Regions from separate parts of the Homo sapiens genome. Here all the other regions are linked to region 2. Evidence: promoter capture Hi-C in 16 types of primary human blood cells and fetal thymus (Javierre and others, 2016). All regions are on one chromosome and are shown on one strand. Each heading gives the region's core, a stretch centred on a gene start or on the middle of the fragment in contact. The rest is flanking DNA. Distances are from core to core; before and after follow the strand shown. Region 1 overlaps KAT6A (lysine acetyltransferase 6A). Region 2 holds the start of SMIM19 (small integral membrane protein 19). Region 3 overlaps KAT6A (lysine acetyltransferase 6A).

The links. The method cuts DNA at HindIII sites, captures the fragments that hold promoters and counts their contacts. A CHiCAGO score of 5 or more calls a contact.
Region 1: a fragment that was not itself captured here is called in contact with the fragment with the promoter of SMIM19 in region 2 in 3 of 17 cell types (non-activated CD4 T cells, total CD8 T cells and activated CD4 T cells); the score reaches 7.3 in non-activated CD4 T cells.
Region 3: a contact is called between a fragment that was not itself captured here and the fragment with the promoter of SMIM19 in region 2, in 1 of 17 cell types (fetal thymus). The highest score is 5.3, in fetal thymus.

The regions. Positions count from the first base shown.
Region 1 is chr8:41,959,312-41,962,031 of GRCh38, reverse strand. All of the region lies in intron 8 of KAT6A (lysine acetyltransferase 6A), which reads left to right. Among named protein-coding and RNA genes, the nearest start is that of KAT6A-AS1, 91 kb to the left of the region's middle. The HindIII fragment of the contact is 5,570 bases long and covers 1-2,720 here.
Region 2 is chr8:42,540,102-42,543,212 of GRCh38, reverse strand. It overlaps SMIM19 (small integral membrane protein 19), which reads right to left and starts at 1,628. Exons shown (of 4, transcript NM_001135674.2): 1 at 840-1,628. It also overlaps a transcript of SLC20A2 not described here. RefSeq lists an enhancer at 1-47 and silencers at 1,208-1,627, 1,768-2,047. The HindIII fragment of the contact is 8,293 bases long and covers 578-3,111 here.
Region 3 is chr8:41,997,567-42,000,266 of GRCh38, reverse strand. All of the region lies in intron 2 of KAT6A (lysine acetyltransferase 6A), which reads left to right. Among named protein-coding and RNA genes, the nearest start is that of KAT6A-AS1, 53 kb to the left of the region's middle. The HindIII fragment of the contact is 2,046 bases long and covers 286-2,331 here.

The DNA of each region.
Region 1 (2,720 bases), core at 181-2,680, 580 kb after region 2:
TAAATTCTGCAAATAGGCCAAGTAAGAAGAGAACTGAAAATTGACTGTCCAGCTTAGCAACAAGGAAGTAATCTTGAGAAACTGTTTCCATGATGGGGACAGGGGAGGGTGAAGAGATAATTGGAGTGGTTTCAAGAAAGAATGGAAGGAGAAATTGGTTATAGTAGTAATATGTGGCCATTGTTTTGAGGTTTTTTACAGTAATTAGGAGCAGAGAAAGGGAGAGTTGGATAGAGCTGTGAGGGCTAAAGAAGATACTTTTTTTTTTTTTTTTTTTTTTGAGATGGAGTCTCGCTCTGTCACCAGGCTGGAGTGCAGTGGCACCATCTCGGCTCATTGCAACCGCCACGTCCCGGGTTCAAGGGATTCTCCTGCCTCAGCCTCCCGAGTAGCTGGTACTACAGGTGTGCGCCACCACTCCCAACTAATTTTTCTATTTTTAGTAGGGACAGGGTTTCACCATGTTGGCCAGGATGGTCTCGATCTCTTGACCTTGTGACCCGCCCACCTTGGCCTCCCAAAGTGTTAGGATTACAGGGGTGAGCCACCATGCCCACACACCCCTCTCCCCCTTTTTAAAATATGGAATGAATAACAGCTGTTTGTATGCTGATGGAATGCTCTGGTAGAGGGAAAGCTGATGATGCAGAAGATAGGAGGGGAACTGCTGGGTGATGTTCTTTGGCTAGGGAGCAGGAAGATGTTATCTCATGCACAAACGGAAGCCGTGGGCTTAGGAGCTCAATCTTTAGCCATAGTATTGGTGAAAGGCAGGATGTGTGGCACAAAGGTGGAGGCAGACAGATGTGGGTGGGAAAAATTGCAGAAGTTTTCTTTTGATTTTGTCCAGTTTAGTGCAGTAGGAAGCAAAAGCATTGGCTGAAAGTGAAGGTGGAGTAAGCAGTGTTGGAGGCTTGAGCAGAGGAGAAAGGGTGCAGTTGTCTTTCAGAACGGGAGAGTGAATGGAGTAGGAAGCATCAGGACCTGCTTGAGGTTTGTGGGTAGGTGTATAATGTGAGACTGGGTAGCATGATTCTCTGTTTTTCTCCACCCATATTCACATTAAGGTAATAACTTCGATTATGTGAAGAGTTGAATTTAACAGGGGTTAGGATTTTGTTGTGAAATTAGAAGAGAAACTAGAGAGTTAAAGGTCTATGCAAAGGGTGGAATTACAGGGAAAAAGACCTTAGAATCTAAGCTGCGTAGAGAGAAAGGAGGGTGTGGGGAGAGTGGAAAGCTGATGGAAGCACTGGATTATGGGTCCTCCGGATGGAAAAGGTAAGATGGCCGAGGACAGAATTCTAGATTTTGTCAATATTTAATGGTAAAAGAATTAGCAAAGGAGATGGATAAAGAGAAGTCTGAGTGTAGAGCAAAAAGGCTTAGGAAAAGGGAAAGATAGGTCACAATATCCAGAATCCTGAAATTTAAGGAGTCCTGAAAATTTGAAAAAAAATAATTGTGGTAAAATATACATAATGTAAAAGTTATTTTAACCAGACTTTTTTTTTTTTTTTTTTTTGAGACGGAGTCTTACTCTGTCACCCAGGCTGGAGTACAGCGGCGTCATCTTGGCTCACTGCAAGCTCCGCCTCCCGGGTTCTCGCCATTCTTTGTATTTTTAGTAGAGACGGGGTTTCACCTTGCTAGCCAGGATGGTCTCGATCGTGATCCGCCGGCCTTGGCCTCCCAAAGTGCTGGGATTACAGGCATGAGCCACTGCGCCCGGCCTAACCAGACCATTTTTAAGTGTACAATTCAGTGGCATTAAAGACATTCACCTTGTTGTGCAATCATCACCATCATCTATTTCCAGAACTTTTTTATCTTGCAAAACTGGAACTCTGTACCCATTAAACAACTCCCAACCCCCCACCCCTACCCCCACCCCTGGTAAGCATCATTCTGTCTTCTGCCTTTATTAATTTGTCTACTCTAGGTACCATAAGTAGAATTATACAATATTTGTCCTTTTGTGTCTGGCTGTTTCACTTAGCATAATGTCCCCAAGGTTCATATGTATTTTAGCCTGTGTCAGAATTGCCTTCCTTGTATTTTTTTTTTTTTTCTTTAAAGACAGAGTCTTGCACTGTTGCCCAGGCTGGAGTGCAGTTGCGCGATCTTGGCTCACTGCAACCTCTGCCTCCCGGGTTCAAGTGTTTCTTCTGCCTCAGCCTCCCGAGTAGCTGGGACTACAGGCATGTGCCATACACCCAGCTAATTATTGTATTTTTAGTAGAGACGGGGTTTCACCACGTTGGCCAGGATGGTCTCAATCTCTTGACCTCATGATCTGCCCACCTTGGCCTCCCAGAGTGCTGGGATTACAGGCGTGAGCCACCAGCGCCCAACCATTGCCTTCCTTTTTAAGGCTGGAGAATATTCCATTGTACGTATGTACCACATTTGGTTTATCCATTCATCTGTCAGTGGATACTTGGGTTGTAAATAGTGCTGCTATGAACATGAGTATGCAAATAGATACCCATATACAAAGAACTGCTTTCAGTTCTGTGGGGTCTATAATCAGCAGTGGAATTGCTAGATTATGTGGTAATTCTGTTTACTTTTTTGAGGAACCATCATACTGTTTTCCACAGCAGCTGTGCCATTTTGTATTCCCGCCAGCAATGGGACAAGGGTTCTGATTTTTCCACATCTTCACCAACATCTGTTATTTTCTGGTGTTTTGCATTTAAAAATAATAACCATCCTAA
Region 2 (3,111 bases), core at 379-2,878:
CGTGCTTACTGCATACCACCACAGCCTTCCTCTGGAATCTAAAGCAAGACACCATTTTTCACATTTTCCTGTAATGTAATGCTTGAACTATTTCAGTAAGGAGAGGCTAGGATGGGCTGAATTAAGTCTCAAGTAAACAAGAGTATATAAACTTGCCAATATATTACAACTAGGGGTTGGTTTTAGATTGACAAACTTTTAGGATGAGAACTACTTTTTTTTTTTTTTTTACAAAAACAGGGTCTCACTCTGTCACCCAGGCTGGAGGGCAGTGGTGCGATCTCGGCTCACTGCAGCCTCGACGTCCCAGAATCGAGGGATTCTCCTGCCTCAGCCTCCCAAGTAGTTGGGAATACAGGCAAGTGCCACCATGCCTGGGTAATTCTTATTTTTTTTTTTTTAAAGACGGGGGTGGGGTGGGGGTCGTCTCACTATACTGCCCAGGCTGGTCTCAAAACTCCTGAGCTCAGGCAATCCGCCCGCCTCAGCCTCCCAAAGTGCTGGGATTACAGGCGTGAGCCACCGTGCCCAGCCGAGAACTACTTTTTCTAGGGACTAGGTCACTGTATCATAAGCTTTAAAATCTGTGTCGTGATTTTGGGTTCCTGATGTCACGTCTAGGTGATTCTAAAATTGACCACCGCTTGTCATCGTGCCTTGAATGTTATCATTTTTGTCTCTCACTTAGAACTTTGTTACTTTGATACAAATTCACATTGGAACCACTTAGTTCCTAGAGTCCCTTACAACAAAATCCTCTGCATCAAAAAATGGGATTTCTTTCTCTCATCCCTCTGAAACACTAAAGGCTTGGTATTCTGAAGCCAAAGGGTACATACAAGCTCACAGGCCTTCACCCAACATCCAGGAAAGCAATTCACAGGTGCTGGGCAGTCCACAGAGTCACTGAATTATCCCAACAACCCTGCTGGGCGGCACTAAAGCTCCATTTTACAGGAGAAGAAACTGGGGTGGCGGCGGTGGTTATATAACTTGTCCAAAGCCACACAGGCCTGGGCGTGGAGGCGCGGGGCTGTTATACACACGACTCCCAAACCTGAACTCTTCCAGTCTTGGCCCCGATCCTGCGAGACCTGCTCCTTCCGGAAGAAAGTCAAGTGGAGCAGGGAGAAAATGTAATCCTCTCCCAGGAAGCAGCCCGGGTCCCAGGGCGGCGAGGCTCTAGGGACGTTTCCGCCGCCCGCAGGCTGCGCGTGATTCAGCCTCAACCCTCCCGCCGAGCCCCCGCCGCCCCGGCAGATGGGCCGCCGCAACTGGCCCGTGTGCGCTTCCGGAAGCGGGCGACTCGCAGCTCCACGCGACGCCGAGGGGCTCCGCGCCGGGACCGGGCGGGTGCTCGGAGTTTCGGGGACCGCACGGGACCGAGGGCAGGCGGGCGGCCACCCCCCTTACCCCCGCGTCCGGGGCGGGGCGGGCGGCGCGGGGCGGGGCCGGGTGACGCGGCCCCGCCGGGGACCGGGAGAAGCGGGGACGCGGGGCCACTCACGCTGCCGGCTCCGGAGGCGGCACGCGGCCAGCGCTGCTCCGCTCCGGGGCTCTTTACCCCGGAGTCGGGGCCGGGCGCGCGGGAAACGGTTACCGAGCGGACCTGGACGCCCTCTGCCTTCGTCATTTCCTGCCGGCCGGTCGGTTTCCGGATGAAACGAGGAGCCAGGTCTTTTTTTTTTTTTTTTCCTTTCCCCTTTTCAGTTTTTTGAGCCGGAGAGACGCAGCGGCGGCCCCAGTGCCGCCCCCGGGCGCGTGAGTGGAGCCGGGCTCCTTTCCCCTACCGCGCCGCGACCCCCGCCCGGGCTGCGCGCGCCGCCTCCCGCGAGCCCCCGGCCCGACTCCCGGGCTCCCGCGGGTGGGGGCCAGGGCTGGTCGGCGCCGGCGGGGCTCGCGGCGGCGGCGGGTTGCGTCCCCCGCGCCTGCTGGCCCACGTGGACCTGGCCGTCGCTTGCCGTGCGGCGCCTTTGCGAAAACTCGACGGAAGTGGCAGGGACCGGGCATTACCTGCGAGTGCCGGGCGCCTCCTGCTCCGCTGTGCGCGCTTGGGGTGGGACTCGGCGGGGGAGGGGTCGTGTACATTGTCCCACCAGGCGCAATGTAGCCGGGCGGCGCAGAGGATTTCTTTTTTGGTCTTGAGAGCATAGAGTCCCTTTTCATATTCACGTGTACTCTTAAGAAAGCGTCTGTTCTCCAAACTGGCTTTCCATTCTCCCCGTCCTAAATGGTGCGTGGCTGACACCGTAGTGTTTTCAAAACTGGATATGGCCAGGATGCTATAGCATTGTCAGTGTAAGTCCCTTTTGGGTATTTTTATTTAATTGTGTAGTGACTTGACAGAAGTGTTTCCCAGCTTGACCTAAGTAATGAATTTGCATAGGATTTCAGCATCAGTATGGAAGTGATCAGATGTCAGTGGCTGGTGCCACCTTGCAGATAAATGGCCACTGGTCCACGTAGTTCGTCTTTACTATACATTTTGATTAAGTTCTCTAGGACCAGCTGACTGGTAATTATAAGTCACATGAAACCCTGCAGAGATGAGAGCTTACATTGAACACTTCTTAACAAGTTTTCTATTCTTTGTTTCATCTGTTACAATTAAACTCACCTTCGTCTAGGGTAAGACCATTACTTTACGCAATAACATACTAGCTTAATTTACGGTATTTATATGTATTTATATATATTGTATATACATAATCATACATATAATTCTATAACATTTAGTTTGACTCTAAAGTTGGAAAATCAGGAAAATAACAGGTGATGTTGAGTACTGATTGTTTGCCGGGCCTGTGCCAAATGGTGTGCATGCTTTATGTAACTTAATCTAAAAAAATTTGAATACGTGAGTTTGATTTCAGTGTGTCCAAATGTGAAACGTGTACATTATTGTTATTGTTTTGTTTTTTTTGAGACGGGGTTTTGCTCTCGTTCAGGCTGGAGTGCAATGGCACTGTCTTGGCTCACTGCAACCTCCGCCTCCCGGGTTCAAGCGATTCTCCTTCCTTAGCCTCCCAGGTAGCTGGGATTACAGGCGCCCGCCACCACGCCCAGCTAAGTTTTGTATTTTTAGTAGAGACGGAGTTTCACCATGTTGGC
Region 3 (2,700 bases), core at 59-2,558, 540 kb after region 2:
CATCACTTCTGTATATATTTTAGCATAGAAATATTCTTTTGCTAATGCTCTTATACTCAAGTACCACTAAATTATTTTTTTAAGTGGGTAATATGCAGTGTGGCAAATGTGTATGTACAAAGACTTTAAAACTCTTAATGCAGTTGCATAAGTAAATACCATATATAGAAAATTTCTTAGGCCACAGGAAATTTTAATGAACTTGCCTATTTCAGGAAGTTAAAATAGAACTAAAACTTGCCCTGAGTTAAGAAGTGGCAATCAGTCAGTTAACAAAAATAAGCTTTGAAGGATAGATACAGTTTTGAAAAAGGTGTAGCAGAAACTAGCACTTACTAGGTGTTTCTTACATTTGAATTACACAGCCATAACTTTATCTGTTAATCTTCACATTAACTTGAAAGGCAGGTATGTTGTACTTTTCAACACTTAAGTAACTTGCTTAAAGTGATGCCACAGTGGCAGAACCCAGTTTGTTTCTAAGTGCTGCTGAGGTGATTCTTGTAGGTGGAGATACAAACGACTTTGAGAGAAGGGGTAAAATACCCTGGAGAATGAGCGTAAAGTATGATTTCTGAAGATGAATGAGTAGATTGGGAATAGAGGAAGATAGAGTGAGAAAGGTAGTTTAGTATATAAAGGAGGGAATTGAATGCCAGCCTGTGGGAGTTGACAGTTGAGATATATTTTATAAGTTTTGAGCCAGGCAAATGACTGGATAAAAATAGTATTTAAGGAGGATTAATCTGGTAGCAATATGCAGAAAAAAGTCAAAGAAAGAGTAGAGGGAGTCAGTCTATGGAGGAGATTGCATATGGTGACATGACTGAGTCAGGAGAGAGGTACAAACATGTAAAAGAAACTAAAGTAGAAAGAAAAGGACCACAAAGGAAGGGAGAGGCAATAATAATTTGTAAATATCATCCAGTATTTGGATGAATGAGGAAATGTATCACTGACAAATAGAAAGTGGAGCTTTCAAATAACCACTAAACCTGTGAAAGGAAGATAACGCTTTGCAGTTTCTTAACTTAGAATTTAAATTCAGCAAATATGGATATTGTCATTTTTGATGTCACTTCTGATTAAGAAATAGAAGATTGTTAGAGTATCTTAATAGATGATTGATTTCTTATCTGAATTTCCAATAATCTACATACATAGTAAAAGTGGAAATTGAAGTTTATCATTACTGATCCAATTATATCATTAACTTTCACCAGTAATCTTATTGATGTCTAATTGTAGAAGTCATTGAATGAACTCATCATAATAAAAATGAATTCAATTTAGCATCCCTATTAAAGTTTTGTAATGGCTAATGGGTTATGTTGGAATTGATTAAAATTATAGAAAGTTATATACTATAAGTAATGGAAATTATAGGTCTTTTCCCAGGCCATTCATTTTTTTTTTAATTATTATAAATCTTTTGCAGGTGTGTACTTTTGAGAACAGCTTATCCTTAAAAATGTTTAATAAGCAGCCATAGAGTACTTGATAGTATATGGGATGCTGAAGAATTTAAAGAGATTAAAGTCCACCCAGATATAGTTTCCTTGAAGATATAGAATCTAGGAGGAAAGGCTCTGAGTAAGTAATGATAAATGGAGCTAAGCATGGTTTCATTGCATTTTAATTTCAACAAACGCTTACTTAGTATATACTAAGTGCAAGGCATAGGTGAATTAAGTGGTGATATCTGCTCACCTAGGATATCAGTTTGGAAAAGGTGGCTAAAAATGGAATTCAAAACTGTCAGAAAGGATTTGGTCAGAGCATGAGTTCATCAAAGGCTATTATTAGTGAAAGAATGAAAAACTTGGTAAAATTGACATGAAGAGCTTGCCTGAGTGGAAGAGAACCATACGTTTTAGAACATTCAGCTTTCTCAAAGTATGAACACTTTCCAACAAAGGATGAGTTTCCTAAAGGGAATATGTGTGCAGTTTGTTACTCTTATGATATTGGAAATAACGAATTTTGCAGAGATTCTTCCAGAAGGCTTACTTTTTTGGTGTGTGAGTGAAAATATGAATGGTACTTAATTGGTTTCTAATTGTTTTGTGTGGATTTTGTCTTTGAATTGACTGACATTTATAAGTGCTTTGAAAATGTGAGTACAACCTTTTCTTTGATTGATTCAAATTTTTATGTTATGTTAAAATGCCCACCAAGGAGTAACATTTACTAGACTTCTTACTGTGTATTGGGTTATATTTTGACAACCTAGCAATACTCGTTTTCCTCATGCCCAGTCATTGAGCATCATTTTGGTTTCCTTCACTATACCATGCCTGAAAATAGTCCAATTTTCCACCCTTCTAAGCTTAAGACTTAACTCCTCTTAATCCTTCAGGTATTTGTATAGTAGAGTGCTTGTCAGTAGATGTTTATCAGCTTATAGATAATGTCTCTGCTGAAAATTATTTGTTTCAAGTTCTGTGAAACAAATACCCACCGAAGAAAGTTAATTTCAAGTTAAATTTACTTTACTTGATTATAGAAGAAGGGAGTAGGATGAAGTACCTGGGAGCCACTAGAGGACTGGAGAGGCAGTCTAGGTTGTAGTTGTAGAGGGATAGATTTGAGAGAAGCTTATGGTGGTTTATGCTCAGAGTAACCTGGATGGATAAGATATATGGTGGTCAGAAAGAATTTTTTGTTTGAGACTGAAAAGTGTTTGATCTATAGATTTAA